3 separate regions of the Homo sapiens genome follow, and all the other regions are linked to region 2. The links are contacts of gene promoters, found by promoter capture Hi-C in human tissues and cell types (Jung and others, 2019). All regions are on one chromosome and are shown on one strand. The core of a region is centred on a gene start or on the middle of the fragment in contact, and the rest is flanking DNA. Distances in the headings are between cores, read along the strand shown. Region 1 overlaps MOCS1 (molybdenum cofactor synthesis 1). Region 2 holds the start of APOBEC2 (apolipoprotein B mRNA editing enzyme catalytic subunit 2). Region 3 overlaps KIF6 (kinesin family member 6).

Region 1 (3,767 bases), core at 1,231-3,730, 1.1 Mb before region 2:
AGCGCTTAATCTCTCCCCAGGAAAGCAGGAGAAGAGAAAACCCAAAATGAGAAGGAAAAGTTCTGGGCTGGACTGTCGGAACCTGGTTGTCTGAAATAGTCCACAAAGAACATGATTTCTCAGTTATCTGGCATTGCTTGTTGCAGTCCCGCTCCCACGACCTTAGTGTCCTGGAAGGCTTAAGGGCCTGCTGGTATCCTCCCTATAGAAAGGAAGCCCCATTGGTCATTAGAGATCATCTAGCAGCAGGCCTGTTTGTTAGTAGTAGAGCAGGCTGACTTCGGGTTTACTGCTCAAGGTAAACAAACAGTGACTGTGATTAAAGGAACCTGACGTCTTTCCCTCAGCCTACATTGCATCCCAGCTCCAGGCCTGGGTGGGCCATGGGTGAGAAGGGCAGGTGCTAAGCCCGATGGAAGTCCCCCCGCTGACCACCAGTCTTGCTAATGAGCTTGATCTCCTCCAACACGATGTCCCTGCTGACAGCCTTGCACATGTCATACAGGGTGAGGGCGGCCACTGCAGCAGAGGTCAGGGCCTCCATCTCCACCCCGGTGGGGCCCCGAGCCCGGCAAGATGCCTGGATCTTCACGGCATGGCGTGTGCTGTCCAGCTCCAGCTGCACCTGGATGTGGCTCAGGGCCACGTGGTGGCACAGAGGGATCAGCTGGCTGGTCACCTTGGCTGCCTGGACTCCAGCCAGCTGGGCCACCACTAGGGCATCTCCTTTCTTGAGCTGGTTCTGCTGGACAAGCTTGAAGGCTACCGGTCCCAGGAGGACCACGGCTGAAGCCACAGCCACCCGCTCTGTGTCTGGCTTCCTGCCCACATCTACCATAGCTGCCCGTCCTTCCGAGTCCACATGAGTTAGTTGTTCTGAGGTTAGCTGGGGTCCTGAGGGGGCAGCAGAAGCCCAGGAACCTGGGCTAAGGCACTTTGAGTTGGCATCTGAGTCTGCACGGGAAGTGTAGTGTCTCTGAAAGGAGCCAGACCCCAGCCGCTGCTGGGCTAGAGGAGGGGTCTGGGGGACCCTGCATCCTTTCCATAAAGTGGCCACCTGGCTGGAGAAACTCATTCTGGGTCTTAGACCCTGAACATGGAGCGGGTCCCAGGAGAAAATGCTTGGATTGGCTGGTGGGGAATTGGGGAACATCAAAAATAACTCTGCAAGGCAAGAAGAAAAGAGAAGAAACACTAAGTCCAAAAGGCAATTCTTTTTCCCACCTCTACTCCCCAACCCTCTCCCTATCCCACCTCAAGTTCTCTTTCATACCGGGGAAAGAGGAATGAAGAACAAAAAGCATAGTGGGACAAGACAAAGTAGAAGATCCACAGATAGATGGCACCCAGAGTCCAAGTTCACAGCCCTTCTCACCCAGTGATGTACAGGGTAACAGCCCTCCTAGAAACTGCTGTGCCACCGTGGCACAGGGTTCCCTCCACATGAAAACCTTCTCAATTCCCAAGTTCTCTCAAGCAGCACCAAGTTGAGGCCTGGATCACATGACCTCTGAATGTCCCTTCATTTTCTTAAAACTAGAGCTAGGTCTCACTCTAAATTACCAATTACACCTATTTTTATCTTCACATTCTCCATGAAGAGTTAATATAACCACTTAGTTTACAGACAAGATAATAAGGGGAATTTGTGATCTACTTAAATGTTTTTCAAGTCCCCTGAAGCACATGAGAAGCACATACAAACTGACGGGCTAATTCAGATGGTGCAGAGGGCCTAGGGAATGGTGCAGGCTCTTGTTACTCAAAGGGTGGTTGGCTTATGGACCAGCAGCACCAGCAGCACCAGCACCACCTGAGAACTCACAAGAGATGCAGAATCCCACCCCAGACCTTCCAAGTCAATCCAAAAGGACAAAATCCCCAGTGATTCACATGCACATGAAATTCTGAGAGGCCCTGTCCTAGGCAACTCTTGGTTGTATAGAAAGCAGACTGGTTACTCAATATCTCTGAAAGTATGAGGCAAATGCTCCCCCAGCTTCCCACTTCGCATCATACTCTAAGCCCCAGACATGTCAATGTCAGAGGGGCAGCCTCCCTTCTGGGGAGATGCCATCAAGGCCATGAAGGTGCCTCAGCATGGGTCAGGGCCCAACAAGAGGACTTGGATGCTGGGGGTGGGAGGAGAGGAGATGAGAGTCTTCTTCCCAGTGGCAAGCTACCTTTGCTTTCCCGGGCAGCCAGTGGGCAAAGATGGTCCTTGGGCTGTCTCTAGCCTGCCTTCCCCTCTGGGCCACTGAGTTCCCTCTGCTCTAACCTCTAAAGAAAGGATCTTTCCTCTCATCTTTTCTCCCCCCTGCTTTTTCTTTCCTAGTGGCACAGTTCAGGGGGCTCAGAACTGACTGCGAGCAAAGGGTCAAGGCCTCACCTGCTATAATCTGGGCACCGTGACAGAGGGGCAACAGCCACCCTACAGCTCCTCAGTGACCAGCCCAGCCCCCAGGGGTAGGAGACCACATAAGGACTTAAAACCAGGGGGCTTTTGTTTGAAGCATCCTACACACACGATGATACATCCTATGCAGATGTTCCTGAGAGTTAAGGAATTGGGAAGTTGAGGTCTTGGCCATCATTACCTCATGTTACATGTGAGTAACATTATTAACTTGCTGCCTCAAGATCTGCCCAGCACAGACGTCTGGCCACACATCCACCCGTGGGGGCTCATGGTCCAGATACACCGTGCATGGATCATTGGGTACTACAGAGGACACCTGTCACATTATCCAAATGGGAGATTTTAGAGCCGAGGAAAAGGCCTCTGTTTTAACCAGGATTTCAATTCTCAGGGAGCCACTAACTTAGTGATCATTAAATCTGGCAGACCATCCCCCTGCTCTGATGTCTGGTGAGACAGAAGGATCATTTCTGTGGCAGGTATAGTAAGGGGGATCATGAACAGTGGGGGAAGAAACAGTAAAACCTTGAAGGTTAAGAAGAGATGAAGGAGGAATAGAAGAAAAACAAGGATGAGAAATCAGCATGAAATGCAGGAGCTGGGGGTGCCTATGGCACGGCTCCCACCCCACGAGATCCCCAAATGACAAGGGTGAGTGGTTACGTACTGATGGGTCACCCACCGATGAGGATCATGGGCCGGTTCTTCATCTGGGAAATACTGAACATGCCTGGGGTGAGGGAAAGATGGGGAGGGAGAGGAAAGCAGGGGAGGGGGAGAGGGAGAGGAAAGCAGGGGAGGGGGAGAGGGAGAGGAAAGCAGGGGAAGGGGAGAGGGAGAGGAAAGCAGGGGAGGGGGAGGGGAGAGGGAGAGGAAAGCAGGGGAGGGGGAGGGGGAGAGGGAGAGGAAAGCAGGGGAGGGGGAGGGGGAGAGGGAGAGGAAAGCAGGGGAAGGGGAGAGGGAGAGGAAAGCAGGGGAGCGGGAGAGGGACAGGGCGGGGAGAGGAGAGTTCACTGAAACAAACGCGCTTGACAGCCCCGAGCACATGCACTCAGCTGTATGACAAAAGGCCCCCACATGTGCACTGCGAGGTCGCTCAAGGCTGAGCCCAAAGAACAGTCTGTGGACATCAGGACCCTGCCCTCCCTAAACAGAAGGCCACGTGTGGGATGAGAAAGAAGCAATGACACCCCCTTCTCCCCACCTAGTAAAACAGCCCAAGAGAATCTGGGGTCCCCTCTCCTGTGCAGCCTCTGCTATGACTTTTCCCCATGGAAGGAGAAGCATCACTGTACCCTGAGTCCAGAGGGCCAACAGCAGTGAGTGGTAGTGGGGATGATGCTGACTC
Region 2 (3,423 bases), core at 766-3,265:
CAGTGAGCCAAGATCGTGCCACTGCACTCCAGTCTGGTGACAGAGTGAGACTCCATCTCAAAAAATAAATAATAATAATCCTTTTAGTAGTAAATCCAAAAGGTAGGGGACCATATAATTTATTGTCCACAGCGGGACACCTTTGGGAGTAAAGGGGTGCTATTAGTAATTATGTCTGGACAACAGGAAGAAACCATGACTGGCAAACCAAAATGCTGGGCATCACACTAACAGAGCACTCTGCTGCTCAGACTCTCTGGAGGAGTGAGCCCTAAATCTTCCAAACCATCTTGACTCCTCTTCTTTAGTCAGACCCTCCAAAGGGTGCCCTACCCTCTCATCCCCACCAGCCAAACCCATTTGGAGCTGTTTTCAGATCCGTTCCCCAGTGTTCTTAGGTTCCTCATTTTCAACCTACAAGTGACCCTGACCCCTTCCTTCTGCTTCCCTGAGAATGGCCTAGAGTGTTTGCACTGCTCCAAACACGAAGACTTTTGCCTCTGCTAAGTACCCATCATGAGAGCTGCAAAAATCATCTAGCCATCCTCTGCTGCTGTTCCGGCTCAGGGTCTTTTCTATGGGCCCCCATCATCTCTCTCTGGCCTCAGTAGGCTTCTCACTGGTCCCCTGCCTCTGCTCTTCCCAAGTGCTCAGACCACCTGTCTCACCTGTTCAGAGACAATGGCTTCCCACCTCAGTCTGAGAAAAAGCAAGGTACTTATGACAGCCCATAAGGCCCCAGTCCCTTTTACCCTTGTTATCTCTCTGGCTTAATCTCTTAGAACTCTTCAGTCACCCAGATGTATGTCCTCGCTAGTTCCTCAAACACCCCAGGAATGCTCCCTTCTCAGAGCCTTTGCTCACGTTGTTCCCTTCCTTGGAACGCTTTCCTCTTAGACAACCAAATGATTAGTTCCCTTGCCTTCTTCACGTCTTCTTCAATTGTCTCCTTTTCAAAGTCCTTCACCCTGGCCATCCTATAAGTACGTAACCCCACCTCTTAGCACTTCCTGTTTCCATTTCCTGTCTTTTCTCCTTGGCACTTGTCATCACAAAATAGACCATGTATTTTACTTACCTTATTTGTTGTTCAGTTCCTCAAGCTCCACAAATCATCACAGCAGGGATTTTCATTTGCTTTGTTCTTTTGCCATATTCCCAGTACCTGAAACAGCACCTGGCATAGAGTAGATACTCAATAAATATTTGTTAAGAAGAATAAAAGACTGACTGTGAGGGCACATAGCATGGAGGTTGAATATTTGGCCTGAAGTACAAAAGCCTGCATTTTAATCCCGGCTCTGCACACTTCTGTGACTCAGTTTACCTGTAACTTGGGATAATACACATCGCCTCCCATGGCTGTGGCAAGCATGCATCTGATTTCATTTAAACCCCTAAACCCACTGCCTGGCCTGTTTCAAAATCTCTGAGCTAAGTAAATGGCAGCTATTGTTACTCAGGGAGGCTCCTGATCGATTTGACATTACATTATGGCTTTGTAACAGGCAAATCAGCACCCACCGCTTTTGAGTCATAACTCACACACTTACTCCCCAAATTGTCAGTTTTGATCCCACCTCTGCCAGGACCCCTCCTTTCCTGAACCCACGTTCCCCCAAAGCAAATGGCCTGGGTCTTTTTGCAGTCAGCCCCTTTCAACACACATCTCCTCCTGTTTAAATCTCAGAAGGCCACCCTCCTAAATCTCAGGATGCCTGCCCTGGGGCCCCTTCCACACTCTCCCCCAGTGGAGCTAGGGAATTTGGGTGGGAAACAAAGGGGAGAACATAAGGTGAGCTGAGAGGGAGAGGGAGAAGAGAGCAGGCCAAGCCATACCCACCTGCCAGGTTCCTGTCTTTGCCTACTGATAAATAGGGGATACTAATGGCCAGATTTTCCATTCCCCCACCCCAGCACCCGCTGTCACTCAATTAAAAAAAGATAGAGGGAGAGAGCCTGGGGGAGGGGCAGGAGGCCTTGGCTATAAAGCCTGTGGCTAAGTGGGGAAAGCACGAAGCCTGGCCTGCTGGGTCCTTTTCCCGTCATCCCCAGCCAGATTTAGCTGCTGACAGCTGCTTGGGACTCTGCCGCCAGGGCCTGGCCCAGACCTGCCTGCCTCTCTCCTCTCCCTCAGTGACTCCTGAGCCACAGCCCCTCCATGGCCCAGAAGGAAGAGGCTGCTGTGGCCACTGAGGCTGCCTCCCAGAATGGGGAGGATCTGGAGAACCTGGACGACCCTGAGAAGCTGAAAGAGCTGATTGAGCTGCCGCCCTTTGAGATTGTCACAGGGTAAGCCTCAGATGTGGGTCAGGGTTCTGCTCCCTAGAAGAGTGCAGCCTTGGGTTAGGCTGTGGAAATTCAGGATGGTTATATTAGGCGTCAGGGACAGCTACAACCCTGCAGCAGTGAGAGTGCACCAGTGGGCCCGGCAGGGGTGGTAGGGGACCCAGCAGCAAATTCTCTTGGCTTCTCAGGGTGACACCTTGGGCTCTCTAATCAGGGAGAGGTAGGAGGAGCTCCTTGGAGGCAAAAGCCCAGAGAATAAAACCACCCTTCAGGCCTCCTGGTATTGGGATGGCCACCTGCCTCTCTGGGTAGAAGCTTAGTCCCAGGGAGTTTGGCGAGGACAGAGGATGAGACTGGCACATCTATATGTGGCTCCGTTCAAAGCAACCCTTCCCCTCAACTTCTCTGTTCCTGAGTGGGTCTCTCCGCTAGCCATAGGCCTCTAGCCCTTTCTTTAGAGCTTCTTCCTGGAGTAGATGCTCCCAAGACAGGAAAGATAGATCCATCCTTTCCCAAGACTCAGAAGCAGCTTTTTTCTTATTAAATCTTTTGAGTCTCCTCAGGGGCTGTCCCACAGAGAAACAGAGAAATTACATGCAGATAACGCAGCCCAGGAGCTTATGGACACAGGAGCTGTTCCAACATGCTCAGGCATTGCCTGGAGGAACTGGGACCCAAAGAAAAGGGTCTACAGACTGCAAGGAGGGGGCTGTGTGCAGGGTACCTCTGTCTTATCCAGATTATGCCATCTCCAGGAATAAAACTAAGTAGTCTTCTTCCTCTTCCCTTTCTATTCCTGTAGTGGAAGACCCTTCTAAATCCTGAGCAAAGAATAAAAAGAGAATCTATGAGGCCATATTTCCTCCTTGAACCAAACGTTCCCTTCATGGGGTCTCCAGGAATGACCACAGGCAGAGTGGGTGCGAGACTAAGAGAAGTTTCAGGAAGAAAGGAGGCATGATGCTTTCAAGGGGGAAAGGAAGCCCTGAGTGGCAATTTGGACTTGATATTTCAAGCTTGACAAGTGATTTTCCAGTCAGCCACAGTTTTAGCACTTATAACATGAAGATCTATAGTAGTAAGGTCCCTTCCAGCTCAGATGTTTTCTGATTTTCAAGAGAACCTAAGGGAAAA
Region 3 (3,271 bases), core at 373-2,872, 1.7 Mb before region 2:
AAGGCTGCTGCTGGACTGAGACTCTAGGCTGCATCAAACACTGCTGAATTAAATTTTAAGATGGGATAGCACATGCATGCTCCAAATAAAAGGAGATATTGCTGTGACAAATGCAACACACCATTTAGAAACATCTCTTGATTTAGAGTGAGTCATCAAAAGCTTTTTAATCCTGCAGTATGGAGAGTCAGTGGTGCTTTGGTGCCCTGCCTGTTTCCTGGGTATCCGGCACAGCCTTATACCACGAGCCTCTCATATGACTGGGTACTGCCTTCCTAATGAGCCTGGACAGTGGCTTGCTCCTTTAGAGCACACACTGGTTTGCACTGCTTCCTGGAAACTACCTCCCTGCTAATAAGCCTTCCCAGTAATAAGCCTCCCTGACAATGCGCCTCCTGACACATGCTTCCTCAAGTCTGTGCCTCCAAACCCCATGCCTTGACCAGAGTAGGTGTGCTCAACCTGGTATGTTACAATTTCTTCAGCGCCTATTGGAACGACCAAGTTCCTTTTTCCCAAACCCTAAGGAAGTATTTTTTTTTTTTTGGAATGACCAGGTTTAAGGATTCTCCACTGCCCCTGGTTTGGGAGGAGCTGCTCACGTAAATAAAGAGGGGATTTTGCCACCACAAGCATAAATACTCACTCTCAGAACAACGAGGCACCACCAGGGAACAAAAGGTGGGTCTTTATAATGTTACATATTGATAAAGGTTGTTTTACAATGCCGCTAGTGATACTCAGTTTTGGTGAATTGACTAACATCTCCCACCACATGGCAAGTTTTTTTTTATTTCCCCCAAACAAGCTTCCAAAAATAGCCTTATGGCTGATACCTAATTGCATTTCTAACAGAGCTATTCTTCATGTGCAGATAACAGTCTCTGTAACCTGCTGGATCTTGCAGCTTTATGGGTTTTGGCAAAAAAAGGAGTTGAGGGGGATTGCAGAATTCACTCAGCATGCAGCTTGCTGTCATTACCACGGTGATAAATTTGCTGGTTTTGGCCTGGGTTCCTGGACACATCCCCATCCAGAGGTATGGAAAAGAGATGAAATGGAAACAGAGAACTCCCAGCCTGAGGCCGGAGACAGTCTGGGAGGGAAGTAGGGAGCCCAGAATGGGGCTGAAAACCAAAAGGGTAGGGGAGGGAAGGAATGCTCTGCCTGCAGGAGTGTCCATAATTAGTAATTTTTCCTTCAGTAATTTACCACAGTACATGCTAGAAACACCTTCTCTCCCTTTTGATACATTAATTGATGGATTGTGGGTGGCAGCGGGGAGCAGAGCTTACAGCAATCCACGGGAAAGCTCCAGAGGAGACGGGTGACCTTAAATATGACCGCGAGCAGGGTATGTGGAGGTGGTGCTCTGTGTGGTATATGGGTTTTCTCTGTTACTGAGTAGTTCTAGGGAAAGTATTATCATCATGCAGAAGTGAAACTGATTTTTTTACATCAGTATTCAGTCTTCTGAATAAAACCATTTTCCATAAGCTTCACACTCTATTTTGCACGCATGCTAGTTTGAGATTATTCACGTGAACGCTGCTTGGCTGGCCTGGAGGAGAGCTATTCACTTACGACTCCCTGAGTGGCTGTCTGCTGCTCCTGCAATTTCTGGGATGCTGTGCCTCATTCAACATGTTTATGTTGCTATCAAACAATAAATACTTATCTCTCATCTACTATCGGTTAAGCACTATGTTCTAAGTGCTGTGGAATATACACACTCGTAGAAGGCTCTATCCTAACCTAGGAAAGTCAGTGCAGTACAGGGATCAGCAAATAGGTGGCCCGTGTGCTCTTTCTTTTAAGTGCTGGACCAACGGCTGGCCTTGCTCCTCCATCAGGGATGGTTTGCTTTCCTGCTGAGCCTGAGTTTGGCTCTTCCACACAGCACTCTGGGCAGCTATAGCCCATCACTTGAAGTTGGACTTGAGATGAAGCAAACCTCTTTGCTATTTCAGTTATTCTAGAAAATAATTACAAATCTGGGCCAGGCATGGTGGTTCATGCCTGTAATCCCAGCACTTTGGGAGGCCAAGGTGGGTGGATCACCTGAGGTCAGGAGTTTAAGACTAGTCTGGCCAACATGGCAAAACTCCATCTCTACTAAAAATACAAAAATTAGCTGGGCATGGTGACGGGCACCTGTAATCCCAGCTACTTGGGACACTGAGGCAGGAGAATCACTTGAACCTGGGAGGCAGAGGTTGCAATGAGCCAAGATCGCGCCGCTGCACTCCAGCCTGGGCAACAGAATGAGACTCTGTCTCCAAAAAAAAAAAAAAAAAAAAAGGAAATAATTACAAATCTGGAGGTAGACGAAGTTGAGTTCAAATCCCAGTTTTGCTACTTCTTAGTTGAATGGGCTAACCAACGTCTCTAACCTCAATGTTATCATTTGAAAAATGGAAAAATATTATAACTGCAATAATATCTGCTTTGCTATATCTCAAGATCTTTCAGAGGAGCAAGGGATAACGCACCAGCATGTATGATATGCCACACTCGTTTTAGGTATTCAGGCACTTTCAGACATATTGGAAGGATACTACATGGTTAAGATGACAGGTCAAGCGGCTAAATGTCAAATCAATGGTAGAGATACATTTAGAGGAGGGAAAGGAGACATTGGGAAAGGCATAATTACTACAGGCGAATTGAGTAGGCTCAGAAAAGAGCAAGGGTGTTAAGGTGCGCTTGGGAAGGGCACCTCAGTCTGAGAGAACTGCTGGGACAATAATGCAGAGGCCAAGTATATACTGGTTTGGGACAGGGGCGGCAAGGGAAGGTTGAGTGGAGGACTAGGGCTGGGGAAGACTAAGTTGTATTCATACTGGAGTCTGGGGTCCTGGGTAATTACTAAGAGCTCTGGACCCAGATAAATGCTATTTGTCTGTTTGACTATACTACTAGAGTTTCTGGGCAAAATCTGGTTAATATAAACATCAGTTGTAGAACTGGGGTGTGGGGAGAATATGCAGAATATGTTTCCTGCCTGAGGGGCCTCTTTGAAATGGAAGGTCTAGTTAGAGGCTCCGAACTCTGAGTGACAATTTCAGCTGTCATGTGAGAAGCAGTTTTTTTGGTACTAACATGGAGGATCATGATAACCAAAAGGTTAGATCCCTAAAGGCTGTGTGTAAGGCTAGTTGTAAAAATAATGGGCCTAGAATAAATTGTGTAATCCTTACACGGATTCCCAACTAACAGGAGGATGTAAATTCTTTGAAACCTTAAAATCAGACATATTCATGTCCCCCTT

What was found. The method cuts DNA at HindIII sites, captures the fragments that hold promoters and counts their contacts. A contact is called where the count stands out against the background at its distance.
Region 1: a contact is called between a fragment that was not itself captured here and the fragment with the promoter of APOBEC2 in region 2, in 1 of the 25 tissues and cell types used here (dorsolateral prefrontal cortex).
Region 3: a contact is called between a fragment that was not itself captured here and the fragment with the promoter of APOBEC2 in region 2, in 1 of the 25 tissues and cell types used here (dorsolateral prefrontal cortex).

Annotation. Positions count from the first base shown.
Region 1 is chr6:39,905,954-39,909,720 of GRCh38, forward strand. MOCS1 (molybdenum cofactor synthesis 1) reads right to left here. Exons shown (of 11, transcript NM_001358530.2): 10 at 3,102-3,149; 11 at 1-1,164. The coding sequence ends at 404. Among named protein-coding and RNA genes, the nearest start is that of DAAM2-AS1, 10 kb to the left of the region's middle. The HindIII fragment of the contact is 4,248 bases long and covers 357-3,767 here.
Region 2 is chr6:41,051,187-41,054,609 of GRCh38, forward strand. It overlaps APOBEC2 (apolipoprotein B mRNA editing enzyme catalytic subunit 2), which reads left to right and starts at 2,016. Exons shown (of 3, transcript NM_006789.4): 1 at 2,016-2,292. The coding sequence starts at 2,162. The HindIII fragment of the contact is 7,265 bases long and covers 1-2,954 here.
Region 3 is chr6:39,387,752-39,391,022 of GRCh38, forward strand. All of the region lies in intron 15 of KIF6 (kinesin family member 6), which reads right to left. LOC107986594 (a long non-coding RNA gene) reads left to right here. Exons shown (of 4, transcript XR_001744111.2): 4 at 558-1,689. Among named protein-coding and RNA genes, the nearest start is that of KCNK16, 67 kb to the left of the region's middle. The HindIII fragment of the contact is 5,758 bases long and covers 1-3,271 here.